Regions from separate parts of the Homo sapiens genome. Here region 1 is linked to region 2. Evidence: promoter capture Hi-C in human tissues and cell types (Jung and others, 2019). All regions are on one chromosome and are shown on one strand. The core of a region is centred on a gene start or on the middle of the fragment in contact, and the rest is flanking DNA. Distances in the headings are between cores, read along the strand shown. Region 1 overlaps LGI1 (leucine rich glioma inactivated 1). Region 2 holds the start of LGI1 (leucine rich glioma inactivated 1).

The links. Contacts are between HindIII fragments. The study calls those that stand out against the background at their distance.
Region 1: a fragment that was not itself captured here is called in contact with the fragment with the promoter of LGI1 in region 2 in 7 of the 25 tissues and cell types used here (bladder, heart left ventricle, heart right ventricle and 4 more).

The regions. Positions count from the first base shown.
Region 1 is chr10:93,787,629-93,794,614 of GRCh38, forward strand. It overlaps LGI1 (leucine rich glioma inactivated 1), which reads left to right. Exons shown (of 8, transcript NM_005097.4): 5 at 2,471-2,542; 6 at 5,115-5,284; 7 at 5,558-5,722. It overlaps LOC105378437 (a long non-coding RNA gene), which reads right to left and starts at 980. Exons shown (of 6, transcript XR_001747552.2): 1 at 904-980. RefSeq lists an enhancer at 2,697-3,255. The HindIII fragment of the contact is 7,903 bases long and covers 976-6,986 here.
Region 2 is chr10:93,756,483-93,763,903 of GRCh38, forward strand. It overlaps LGI1 (leucine rich glioma inactivated 1), which reads left to right and starts at 1,454. Exons shown (of 8, transcript NM_005097.4): 1 at 1,454-1,877; 2 at 2,278-2,349. The coding sequence starts at 1,663. It overlaps LOC101927013 (a long non-coding RNA gene), which reads right to left and starts at 1,235. Exons shown (of 3, transcript XR_246160.5): 1 at 999-1,235. LOC105378437 (a long non-coding RNA gene) reads right to left here. Exons shown (of 6, transcript XR_001747552.2): 5 at 7,302-7,416; 6 at 6,608-6,694. The HindIII fragment of the contact is 5,456 bases long and covers 1-3,358 here.

The DNA of each region.
Region 1 (6,986 bases), core at 3,677-6,176, 35 kb after region 2:
AGGGTACAGTGGCTCACACCTGTAATCCCAGCACATTGGGAGGAAGAGGCATGAGGATAGCTTGAGCCCAAGAGTTCAAGACCAGCCTGAGCAACATAGCAAGACCCTGTCTCTACAAATAAAAAAAACTTAGTTGGGCATGGTGGGACACACCTGTGGTCCCAGCTACTGGAGAGGCTGAGCCCAGAGGATCACTTGAGCCAGGGACGTTGAGGCTGCATTAAGCTGTAATTGCACCACTATATTTCAGCCTGGACAACAAAGTGAGACCCTGTCTCAAAAAAAAAAAAAAAAAAAGAATTCCCCTTGGACAGTAAGACAAGCATGGTGCCTTCTCCTGTATAGCCCCTATTGGCAGTAGTAATTCAGGATTTGACTGCTTAATCATTGCATGCCCACTGTCCTGTGACTCAGCCTCCTCTAAATTTATGCTCTGCAGCCAGTTGCAGTTTTTACCAGCTTCAGAGGAAGGGACATCCACTTAGAAGTTAGTATGATAACTTTAAGCCACATTGTGCCAGAAAATAAACTGAGACACATAACATGGGAGTGACTCTGGACTGGTCCAAGACATCAGAAAATCTCTTCATTCAAACACCAGTCAGTAAGATGAATTATGGAGACATTCTCTTGAATAGTCTTCCTTAGCAGCATTTTATTAATTTTGCTGTATGTGGACAGCCATAGCAGTTCATTCATGTGGTCTGTTTCTAAACGTTGTTTCTTGGACAACATACGTACAGAAGCTGTTCTCTTCTGACACCAGCCACTCTACTGAGAGTAGTTCAGACACCTGCACCATCCTTGATTATCTCATTTCCTTTTTTCAATAATCTTATGAGATAAGGTATTATTATCTTCACTTAAAAATGAAACAACTGAATTTCCAAGAAGATACATTACCAAAGTCACACAGCCAGTAAATGCTGGAGTCAGGATTCAAACATAGCTCAGAATCACTCCAAAAGCCATGCTCTTTGTCACAATTGGACCGTCATTGACAATGGAACATTCTGACTCAGTTCCTATTCTTGCATTCCAAGGTTCATTGAGAACCATTTTCCAAACTAGCAGTAATTTCTAAAACCTAGAAAAACAACATAACTAACTTAAAAATAAGTTCTAAAGTTCATGAATGTTTGCACTTGAGAAACCTTATATTTAATTAGTGGAGGTAGAAGACATAGACTTTTGAGAATGTTTTAAAGGGAAGTTGAGAGAATTTTCAAGGGTTTAGAGGCTAATGGTATGGGCTCTTTAGTTTTAGTTTAGTTTTTTATTTTTATTGTGGAAAAAAAAAACACCTCTAAGAAAAGTTTATAACGTGTATATATATGGTGCTGGTTAAAAATAGAAAATTACACTACTTGGTGACCTTCCCCAGTCATACAGCATTAGCACTGTGCTATGTCTATATTTGTGTACTAGGGACACATTTCCCTTTCCTTGACATTATCAGGACAATTTTTTACTCATTAACCTTTATTAGAATCATTCTAGTGATTTACGGAAGAACAAATAGAAAGGGAAAGGGAAAAACATTCCTGTGATCACAGGAAAAGAACCAGAAGAAGGAGAAAGAGGGGGATGATTAAAGAGAATAGATGGATAGGTTTTTATAAGAAAACTTTTTTCTGAGGTGGAATGAATGGTGCTAGAAAGGAAAAGGAGGCGTGGGCTTTAGAAAGGAGAAAGGATGTACTGGGGAAGAGATAGAGCTACTGGCACTGTGGGTTGGAGGTTTGGTTGCTCTCCGGAGCAAGCGAGGAGGAAGCAGGCAGAAGGGGCAGCCCAGGCAAGAGGAGGGGGCGCATTTTGGAGATGGACACTCACCAGTTTGGTTAGTCATCATTTGGGAGATATCCCCTAGATTGAGCGTCTGAGAGTGTGAATCTCTCGTGTTCTGTTCTAAATGGAAAGATCAATGCCCAGGAATCATTGTTGTTTTTAACCAACATAAAGTGTTGTTTAAATATTGAGTGCACCTGTAATCCCAGCACTTTGGGAGGCCGAGGCGGGTGGATCACTGAAGCTCAGGAGTTCAAGACCAGCCTGGCCAACATGGTGAAACCCTGTCTCTACTAAAAATACAACAATTAGCCGGGTATGGTGGCGGGCACATGTAATCCCAGCTACGGCAGGCTAAGGCAGGAAAATCACTTGAACCCGGGAGGCAGAGGTTTCAGTGAGCTGAGGTCACACCACTTCACTCCAGCCTGGGTGACAGAGCGAGACTTTTGTCTCAAGAAATAAAAGTAAATAAATATGGAGTGGGTGTTGAAGTGAACAGGTTAGGAACTGAAAGGACAATAGCAGGAATCTGAGTAGTAGTTCAGAAGAAAAAAAAAGGACCACAAGTCTTTTAGTAGGCTGGAAATGACAAAAGAGACTCATCACTAAGCTTTATCATTAAATGCCTTTGTTTAATTTATCACTACAGTTTACATCACCTTTTTTTTTTTTTTTCCAGGAGCCTTGCAAACAACAATCTCCAGACACTCCCAAAAGATATTTTCAAAGGCCTGGATTCTTTAACAAATGTGTAAGAGGACCTAAGAAATCACTGAACAATTAATTAATTTGCAGTCATTAACAAGGAAGCCTGGTATTGATTATTATAATTTTTAATTGGCTTTTAAATTAAAATTAGGATTTTTAAATCTAAATTTTAACTGGCCAAAAATTTAAATTTACATGGACTAACATTTGAGTCTTCTATGGTATTTATCATTGGGAATTCTGAATACATGGCACCCAGGCATTCCTTTGACAAAGTGTGTGTCAATACGGCAGGGAGCGATGATAAAGGACTTTGACGGGGTGGGAAGAGACCCGGCTAGAAATTTCAAAATCCCTTTTTTCTCATGAGGTCCAGGAAATAGGGCTACAAAGGAAAAACATAAAGGAGTCTGGGAAACTGACAGAATAAAGATGAAAGGTTACATCCTTGGGTTGGTCAATCAACAGAGAAATGGAACAGGAAGTGGGGGAAGGGAGAAAAGTTTGCCTTTTTTCTCATTAGACTGAACAACAACTCTAAGCTTAATCCCCAGGAATTTGGCTTAAGCCCCAGGAAGGGAATGAACTTAATTATTTTTGACCCTTTTTCAAACAAAAGAGCTTTCAAACTTTGACTTTTAAGCCTCCGAGTGAAAGATCTTTGCAAGGAATTTGTATATTTTGCTGTAAGCAAAGCAAGTAATATATGCCTAAACTTCTCAAAAGCAATTCAGCTTCATTATTTGCCTTCCAGAACATTAGAAAGGTATTTAAATGTCATAAGGTGGAAGACAGGAACAAATGAAAGGATATATGAAAACAAAAGCTTTTTTAAAAAATTATTCAGGTACTTGTCTGTAGAATATATATTCAAAACAACTTTTCTCCAATAACAAACAAAAAGAAAATCTGAGTCAAGTACTTTCTTCCAAGCCCAGTATTTAACTTCAAATCAGTAGCCTAATGAAAAACTTTCTTTGTTCCTTGCAGTATTTCCCCAGCCCCTCCTCCATGTCTATTACCTCAATTCCTGAATGATATGGTTTAATTCCAGGAGAATGCCCAAATCAGGATTCTTCCAAGAGAGTCCTGGACAGACCATAGTTATCCTCTCTGGTTTACAGTAGCCTGAAAGGTTGCCACTCATTAGTGTGGGTCAGAGTTCTCTTGGGAGACTAGGTCAGTTCTGGGAGTGTCTTGGAAGTTAGAACACACTCCATGGGTGACGTGGGATGTAGCTCATTGGGGGTCCTTTACCCCATTTTTGTGTCAGTCTATACCCTACACTAGTGAAAGACAAAACAAAAAAATATTGAAATTGGCTCAGTCTCTCATGGGAATCCCAAGATGGGTTTAGCCTTTTGGACCTACTCTAATATGCCCAAATCAAGAATTATCTTAGAAGTACAAGGATCCATGCCAACTTGCCTTTTAGTGGATTTCTTGGCTTTCTTGAAAGTATCCTCTAAAAAACATTTTTAAATGTTTGGGCGTTTAAAAATTATTTATGTGTGGTGTGAAGAGTAGGCAGCACCTATCTTAAGAATTCTGTGTGACCAGGAAAGGAGGTGGAATTCCTGAACAGAAGCAATGCAAATACACAGAGAACTTGGTGAGTTGGGGTCATATGTGGATATGTAAATGGTCTATGCTGTATAACTTATTACAGGCATGAGCGATTGTATGCCTGTGTTAACTCTGCTGTGTCAAAGTCATTTCCTATTTAAACTGAATTTGTAGACCACGGAAGAGGATCAGGATTAATTATGTCTGTGAGGAAGAAGAAAAGCAAATAGCTCACTTGATTAAATACATTACAATAATCACTACATTCTGTCCTTTAGACCTGTGCTGTCCAATAGGGTAGCCACCAGACCTTATGGTCACTGAGCACCTAAAATGTGCTCCTAGTACAACTGAGAGACTGAATTTTAAATTTTACTTAATTTTTTAACAGTTAAATTTAAATTTAAAAGCTGATTCTCAGCTCAATTATTGGAAAATGTTAAGTACGCTTGGAATAATTTGGGTATATACACCTATTTTTTTCAATTATGAATTTTATGACATCTAAATATAGATCACCTATTTCTGGTAAAATTTAGCATCTGAATTGAGATATATTGTAGGTATAAAATACACACTGGACTTCAAAGACTTAGTATAAAAAAGGAATGTAAAATATCTCAATAATGTTTATATTGATGATGTGTCAAAATGATAATCTTTTGTATGTATTGGGTTAAATAAAACATATTATTAAAATGAATTATACCTGCTTCTTTTTACTTTTTTAATGTGGCTATAGAAAATTTTAAATTACAATTACGGTTCATATACTGTTTCTATTGACAGCACAGCCCTAGACTAAGCCGCTTTGGAATTCAAGAGGGAGTAAGTGATGAGGTTCCATTGACTGGGTAGTCTTCAAGTGTGCATGGTGCTAACTCTCTGAGCCCAAAGTGAATGAGTGGTCAGTCAGGTTCCAGGCAGGTTATAGGGCAGGATGCAACGCCGGGTAAGGTCATTCTGCACATGTTAATTGTTGATGTAGAACTCTTTCCTGCGTGGGTAGGGCCCTTGTACAGCAAAAGCAGCTGAAGTTTGTCTTTCAGGGACCTGAGGGGTAATTCATTTAATTGTGACTGTAAACTGAAATGGCTAGTGGAATGGCTTGGCCACACCAATGCAACTGTTGAAGACATCTACTGCGAAGGCCCCCCAGAATACAAGAAGCGCAAAATCAATAGTCTCTCCTCGAAGGATTTTGATTGCATCATTACAGGTAATGTACTCATCATCATTCCACCTCAAAAAATTAAAATAAGGGCTACCTTTTTTTTTCATGTGCAGGAACTGATATTTTTTATATCTTAAAAACTAGCTGAGCAACTTAATTTTAAAAAAATTATGAACCATTGACAATGCTTCATGTGTTTAAAAGTAAAATGGCCATTTTACTATTCTCTGAAATAAATGTATTTCTTGTGAATATTTAAGATCTAGCCAAGGAAAGAGGTATTAGCTCACAGTTACTTATTATTTCCTATTTTTGCAGAATTTGCAAAGTCTCAAGACCTGCCTTATCAATCATTGTCCATAGACACTTTTTCTTATTTGAATGATGAGTATGTAGTCATCGCTCAGCCTTTTACTGGAAAATGCATTTTCCTTGAATGGGACCATGTGGAAAAGACCTTCCGGAATTATGACAACATTACAGGTATGAAAAGCCTAATGATATTTTGAGTGGTAATTTAAACTGCTTCAGCCAAGGGCAACAAGGAAAGATGAGTGGTATAGGGGAATGCTTTAGCATTTGAATTCCAACTCTACCATTTGTTAAGTGACCTGGGATTGTTCTCTAAGCCATAATTTCCCCACTTGTAAAACGGGAATAATATTAATACTTAACTCACAAGGTTGTTAATAAGATCATGTGAACACATATTCAAGAAACTTAGCATAGGGTCTAGTATAATACATAAACAGTAAATATTTGATTATTTTTCTTCAAATAAAAGTATTGGATGGTGAATCATGAGTTCTAGTCCAGGTTCTGCCACAGTCTATTTGGGCAAGCTGCTCATACTCACTGACACCCCTCAACCCCTTTTTCTTAACTATAAAATAAGAAGGTTATTTTAGATCAATAAGTCTCAAATTTGTTACACAAACGTGTCTTCTACAAAATGTTAATGTATGCCTTGTAATGAAAAGGATTTTGTGGTCCAATAAATTCATGAACCATATCTTGGTCTTGTAGGTTCATAATACAGACATCTGTGGATCTGAGAAGTCCTGCAGTGAGGAAATTTTTCCAATATTTTTCACCCTTAATTTGGCCATGGAATTTAATTCTTTCTTTTCTTTTCTTTTTTCTTTTTTTTTCTTTTTTTTTTTTTTTTTGAGACAGAGTCTCGCTCTGTCACCCAGGCTGGAGTGCAGTGGCACAATCTCAGCTCACTGCAACCTCCAACTCCCGGGTTCAAGCAATTCTTCTGCCTCAGCCTCCCAAGCAGCTGGGACTACAGGTGCGTGCCACCATGTCCAGCTAATTTTTGTATTTTTAGTACAGACAGGGTTTCACCATATTGGCAAAGCTGGTATTGAACTCCTGACCTCATGATCCGCCCACCTTGGCCTCTCAAAGTGCTGCCATTACAAGCGTGAGCCACCGCACCCGGCCGGAATCTAATTCTTTCTATGAAAACTTTTACTTATCTGGATCTCTCTTTTTTTTTTTTTTTTTTTGAGATGGAGTCTTGCTCTGTTACCCAGGCTGGAGTGCAGTGGCGTGATCTGGGGTCAATGCAACCTCAGCCTCCTGGGTTCAAGCGATTCTTGTCCTTCAGCCTCCCAAGTAGCTGGGACTACAGGCATGTGCCACCACGCCCTAATAATTTTTTGTATTTTTAGTAGAGATGGGGTTTCACCAAGTTGGTCAGGCTGGTTTCGAATTCCTGGCCTCAAGTGATCCACCCGCC
Region 2 (7,421 bases), core at 204-2,703:
CTGTACACTCTGCTGTTGCTGGCATAGCCATCCAGGTTGCCCACTACATGCACAATGCTACACAGGCCCTGGGTTCCCTAGCGGGGTCTCTAACCTCGTGGACCTTGCAATCTTCTGGGGTAAACAGACAGTTATCAAATGTGAGAATGCACGTGAATGGCACTGTCCCCCGCAAAGAGTTTACAGAGAACTGAACAAGGGATTGAAGTTAGCATGGGGCCAGCTACATGAGCGAAAGGGTAGAATGGCAATGCTTTCAGCTCTGATGCAGAATGAGGTTATGTCAAAATCGCCTTTGCTCAAGCAGTCCTTTTAATACTTTCAGTCTAAGAAGCTAGAGGAGAAAGGAACGTGGACTGATATCCCAGGCTGTTCGTGCCAGCTTGAAGGATGGCCGCCTTCGCCATAGTGAGATAACCGGGGGTCTGTTTTCCTCATCTTCCTCCATCCCAAGGGTCTTCCTACTCTCTTGGACTAAACTATCCCACCCCAAGGCCAGGGGCTCTTGATTGCTTCTTTAAATGAATTTTCTTTTCCAAGGGCCCATCCGCTCACATCAAGTACACGAGTAACATAGCCTATCATTTTCATTTAATTCCAGAATGTCTTTACTATCATCCCCGTTTTACAGACAGGAGAATAGATTCAGCAAGTTCACAGCAGACCTGCGTTCTCAAAGCCAGGTGTCTGGTTCTCAGTCCAGCATTTCCCCCACCATGTCACAGCCTCGGGGCTGAGCCAGGCCTTTTTCAAAGCCCCAGGAAGCTAGAGCTGGCCGCCTCCTGCTGGCAGGGAGTTCCTTCCAGGCTTCTGGTGCTACTGCCAAAGAAGGGAGGGTGGGAGAAGAGAGGGAGGTGGATTATACACAGAGAGGGTCCCGCACTTCTGTTTCCCTTCCTTGTCATGGAAGGAGAGAATGAATTACGTGGGGGACCCAGGGGGATAGGAAAATCAATCATTCATGACAGTTAATAAGTGTCAGAAAAGTATGTACTCACATTCATCCCCTGAAAGTCACATTCTTCATCTGTTCTGATTTGTCTTTCACTGATGGCATTAGCCAGGTAGGCTCAGCAAGAAACATCAAAAGGTTTTAGCCCAATATTGTGGAGAGAGTTTCATTTAGCTTCATTTTTTCCAGCCGGGGCTGGCTCCAAAGCTAGTTTTTCTTACTAGGTTGTTTGCTACATGAAAAGCAGACTCCCAGAGGTTTCTGAGATTGCCGACATCCTATGCAAGATGACTGCTCCCACCCACCCGCCCACCCACTCACTAATAAGACATAATGCCGTCCTATTTTTGGTAACAATTAAAGGGCCTCCCGGTGAAAGCAGAAAGCTGTTTATTTTCTGTGACATCACTTCACTTTGCCTTCGAAGGCTGGTCTGTGCTCAGTGTTTTCGTGGTGATGCAAGTCGGCTCTCTCCTCCAGCAGTTGGATCCCTCCCATCTCACAGTACCTCACAGGTCTCTTCCCCCGAGCAGTGCATTGCTGGAGCGAGGAGAAGCTCACGAATCAGCTGCAGGTCTCTGTTTTGAAAAAGCAGAGATACAGAGGCAGAGGAAAAGGGTGGACTCCTATGTGACCTGTTCTTAGAGCAAGACAATCACCATCTGAATTCCAGAAGCCCTGTTCATGGTTGGGGATATTTTCTCGACTGCATGGAATCAGAAAGAAGCAAAAGGATGGGAAATGCCTGCATTCCCCTGAAAAGAATTGCTTATTTCCTATGTCTCTTATCTGCGCTTTTGCTGACTGAGGGGAAGAAACCAGCGAAGCCAAAATGCCCTGCCGTGTGTACTTGTACCAAAGATAATGCTTTATGTGAGAATGCCAGATCCATTCCACGCACCGTTCCTCCTGATGTTATCTCATTGTAAGGCCCGTAAGCATTTTGATATCTAATTTACGATTTAAAAATTCCAGCCGGTGGATTTGGGGCTTTGCATGTATTTGTAGAAGGGCATGGAGAGAGAGATTCCTCTTGCATGCTTGGCCATTTGACAGTGCTAACATTTGCTGCATTTAGAATTTTTGATTTTTTTAGCTGCTACTGAACATGCTTAGATACCCCCAGCCCTGAACATTATCATGAGAAACCTGTAGCCGATTCATTTCTCTTACTTCATCTGGGAAGGAATAGTATCGTACTTCATAAAATAGTGTCAAAATAGTCACTGTTATGCTAAACCGGATTAACATAAGGTTTGTTCTGTGTGTGTGTGTCTCTTTGTGTGTGTCTGTTTGTTTGTTTTCTCTTTTTTGTTTTCTTTCAGATCCTTTGTGAGATCTGGTTTTACTGAAATCTCAGAAGGGAGTTTTTTATTCACGCCATCGCTGCAGCTCTTGTGAGAAATATTTATATCATGACTATTTTTAATATGGCATATATTTGGATAAGCCTTCTAGTAAAATGATCTCAATATTAATTTTGTCAAATGTGATTCTATTTCTGAGAAAACAGAATATCCGTAAAGTGAGAGGTAGATGGGTTTGTTTGCGACTTCACACCAACAGTGCAGGTTGATTCTTACAATGGTAAATCTGTTAACCTGTCATGCTGTCTACTTTAATGGCTATTTATGAAGTTGTTGGAATCTTGCAACAATGATCCCAATTCCATTCCACTATTTTACTTTCATTTTTAACTTGGGAACTTGGGTTCTTTTGCCCTGGAGTTTTTGAATTAGTCAATACAGAACCCAGCATAACATATGCGCTCAAGATGTTGTCTCCGGGGATCTGGGGCAGGCTGCTACTCTGTATGATTTACCATGTGGGGAAAAAAAACACCTCAGCTCTTTCTAGGTAATTCCTTAAAATGTTAATTCTCAAGAGACTGTTTTTTAATCTCATCTAATTTATAACTAGTTCCATTACAAGGAGGGAAAGAAAATATTAATATAGGATAGTGCAAAGGATTACTCTCTGCTATATGTTTTGAGTTGGCCACAAGGGAACCACATACTCAGTCTATGCCTGAAAATATTCAAAAAAATAATATTTGACTAAGAAATCAGATCTGTTCACAGGCATAATGGAACACATAAAATTTGTTCTGATGTGTAATGTTTGGCAATTGGAGTCCTAGTCCTTACAGCGGTATCACATGGGGGTCAAGAGGTCTCCCAGGACTCAGGTATCAGGTCGCAGACTTGGTTTGTAGCTGGACGGATATGGGCAGAATTAGACAATTGTGGATCAGCTGAGTCTTGGCTATCTTAACTGCATGATTCAGGACCCAGGCCTTTCACTTGTTTGTTTTTTATTTTTTTATTTTCTTGCCTTACTTGGCCATTTTGGCTGTTTGAAGTTACATACACAGAGGCAAACAGCATGGAGTGGACGTTGGAGAGACAAGTGTTTAAACCTCACCCTGCCACTCATAGAACCTAAACATGTAGTCTTGTGCAGATTAGTATATCTCACTAAGCCTCAGTCTTCTTATCTTTAAAATGGAAGTGAGAACACATACTTCCAAGGTTTAAGTAGATAAAACACTTGGCATAGGGTGTGCCAAATGCTTACACATTTATAAATGGTAGGGTTTAAAAATTTTATATCAAGCTAAAAAGCTAAAAGTCACTCATCTATTGTTTTGTGTATATGAAATTCCTAAACTGGTTTGACTGTTTCATTGGATTCACAAACTTGATCAGTTGTTTTGACATTATGTAATGATGTTGGCTAATGCCCTTCTACTGGCTGATGTCTTCAAATGATTAGCAATTGACTAGATATTCCTAAGGGGTTTATCTGTTTGATTGATGGCTAGTGGTGTGACTGGGGGAAGTGTTAGTTAGCACATCAAACAAATCCAAAAAAGATAGATTCTTTCCCACAGAAAGGGGCAGAGTCTCTAATGCTGGGATCCTTCCATAGGATAAGAATTTGCTGTCTCTGAGAAAGTGATAAATTGTGTTTCTGGTCCTCACTTGTTAAATGAATAAATAGCTCTTTTAAAAAGCATCCTTTTGATATGCTAAGGCACCTCCCTTCCCCTAGGAAGTTACATAGATCTAGTTACATAGATCAGTCCTTAAAATTCCAGGAGTAGTGTCAGTAGACACTAGATGGACATTAGCTGTGGCACAGAAAGCCTGGAGTGATTAACCTAATCAATTACCACATCTCCACTTTGTTTTTGTTGGGTGGACCCAGTCACGGCAAGCACAGATGCTGGACAATGTTATAGAAATAGTTACCGGCTGCTGCAGGGTAATGTGATTTCACGTATTTAGAATCACAGAGGGAAGCCAAGGGACTGGTTTTTAAATAGCCCAACCGAGTGTGTGCCATGCCCGTGCCCCATGCTCCGAGTTCCTATGGAACATTCCAGCCTTTATTTCTAAAAGCAGTTCAGGTTTCAGAAATAACAAAAGGCGAGTAATTCTCTCCCAGTGTGTTCTCGGTTAACTCAGATTGGCTAACCTCAACATGGTAGACTTGTGCCAGAGCTGAACTTATGCAAAATTGTCAGGGGCCAAAGTTTGTCCCTAATCTCCAGGACCCTGTGCCTGAAGACTCTGCTCTCCATCCTTCTTGCCCAATATTCTCTGCTTCCGCCTATCCTCAGGAAAAGGTCTAATAAACTCATGTGCGGTGTGTAGGAAATATATGAGAAGGCTCTGAATATGAACTATGAAACGATCATAACAATTGTGGGAATGCATGGATCCCACAGAGAAAGATCTCTTCTGTGAGACAGGGCTGTCCAGTGCCCTGAAAACCCCATATGGGCTGCCAATCCCCCTTTGGAACATGAAGACCAATGGCATTGGACCACCAGATTAGGCCTAGATCACACAAGCCATTGAGGTTTGCAATGAATTCCAACAGCATTTGTGATTGTGAATTGCCACACTCACCCATCATACACTGTGAAGAGATAAATTTCAGAATCAATTCGGCTTGATTGACGTAGGAAGACAGTTCGTTGGTTTCTTGCTTTATTGTTGGGAAGGGTTAAAGCAAATGTCCTATTTCCATCATCCACCCTAAAAATCTGATAATGTCAGTATGCCCCCAGATGCTTTTTCAGAGCTTCTGAAAAAGCTATGATGAGAAGTACTTGTTGAAATGTCAGTCTGGGGTACTGAGGAAAATAGACATGGTATCTGAAGTTACATGCAGTGTTTGGGAAAAGATCCTGGTAGGCCATGGCTGGCAGTTTGTGTTGGAGAACAAGAAAAACAAAAACCCACATTCCGTAGAGAAGAGAGAGAAAGAATAAAATTATTCAATAAAAATTCATTAGATTAGTTGTAATATACATTTTTTAAAAATCTCATTTATGGGTTTAAACATAACAATAAAAACCTTTCCCAAGCAAATGCAATTTCATTCATGTTTTACATAGGGCCAGTTTCGAAACATAACCAATGACAACGATTATGCGTTCTAGCTTGCTTTTAGTGATAGAAAGTGGTACTTTTAGTGAATGCAGTTTAGGGAAATGTGTTTTCACACATTACAGCCCTGTTCCTTCTCAACTACAGACTGAAGTCCCCAATGATATGGGCTCATGATGGAAGTGAAATTCAAATTTAAGAGGACAAAATGTGGCCACTTCGCCACCCACTTATAACATATTTTAATTATAAACCCCTGTAATTCCCGAGAGTGTTCTATTTTCAGGGAGTGATTTCCAGGGTAGTTTTAGTATCATGCTCAAATAAAACAACACAAAACAAAAACACTGCACGTAAGAATCCGACATGACCAGAAAAAATTTCTTAGTATTCCAATTGGATGTGGTCTTGTTTGAAAGACAGAATTGATCTTTCAGGGTCAAAGGAGGGGAATAGCGTTATTTTAAAAATTAATCCACAATCAACACATAAATACCTGATCCATAAGAAATTAAAAACTAAAAACAAATGGAAAAGCAAAAGGCATGAACAAAAGAAGGAATAAGTCCATCCTTACTAAGGCTTTATCATTTAGTCCTTCAAAATATGATCTGTCCAGGAAAAAATATCCATGGCCTCCTTTACCTTTAAAGCAATTGCTACCTTTTTCTATTCCTCCTTATATTAGAAGCCTACAATTTAGCAGTCTTCAATGACCACTCAAGCCAAACCTATCAGCCAAGGGTGTTTTTGGAGGAATTATTAGCTGGTTATAGGTGAGCACGTTTTGGTTTGTATCCAGCTGATGCCCCCATGATGGACCAAAAAGCAAAAATTTCAGTCATCTAGGCTGTTTTGTCTACAGTTTGCCCAATGATCCATAGATCTAATCTTTAACTTTTTAATTAATTACTTCTTTTTTGTTTTTACTTTCTTAAAAATAATTTTAAATTTTATTTTAGATTCGAGGGTCCATGTACAGGTTTGTTACTTGAAGTGAATTAATTCTCGTAACTGCACAAACTAGCACTCACCACAATTGTTTTCTCTGAAAGTGTATTTCATCCTTTCAGTTATTCAGGCAAGAAACTTCAGAGTTACCTGACCCCTCTCTTTCACTCTCCACTTCCACCTGGACAAGCATCCTGTCCGACAGCATGAGAATCTGCCTCCTCCTCTTCACCACAGCACCACTGCTTTCACTGAGGCTGCATTTCATTCACTGTTTCACAGGCTGTGGCAGGAGCCTCCACGCCTCACTGTCTGCTTTCAGTTCCCATCTGACCCATCTCCATTAGCGCTGCCTTTCCTGAGACACAGCTCTCCGTGCTTTCATGACTCCCTAGAAACAGAGAAAGTCCAGACACCTGAGCTGGCATCCATAGTGTTTGGCCCTTTCTATTTGTCCAAGGTTATCACTCACATCATTGACTCTACACACACAGACACACACACACACACAGACACACACACACACACGTGCCCAAACAAGTTCTGCAGGATCTCATTCTATGACCTCTGTTGATTCTCAAATTCTCTAGACTTTACTGATGTCTGGCACTGTGTGCCATTTGCTAGAGTTATGGTGCTTGTATCTGCCTTGTGTCTTTCATGGAGGATCACCAATAAACTGTGGTCCCAGAGAAAAACCCAGACATGTTTTCCCATGTATTTGTTGAATCCAGTTTATGTTTCCATCGATTTTGTGCTGAAGACTCCTGTGTTACTCTCAGCAGATAATGCTGGTCATGTTCACACTCTTTCTGATGTTTGGTGCACCCTATCTGAATTCACGTGGACTAATAGTGTGGAGGTCTGGGAAGTGAGCCGAACTAAAAAAACTCGAGGAGATATTTGCTCATGAAGTTGTGAATTCAAACTTCCTCAGCAGAGATTTCCAGCATACCAGATTTCAAAGGCAAAGCATCTAAGCCTTTCCTTAGACCCACCGCTCGAATCTCTTGTGTCCCACGCTGACTTCACATTTGGTCTCCTTGGTTTTTAGTCAGACTGCAGAGGCCGACTAGTCTGTCCTGGGAAGGGTAAGATGCTCCTTTATCCAGCCTGAC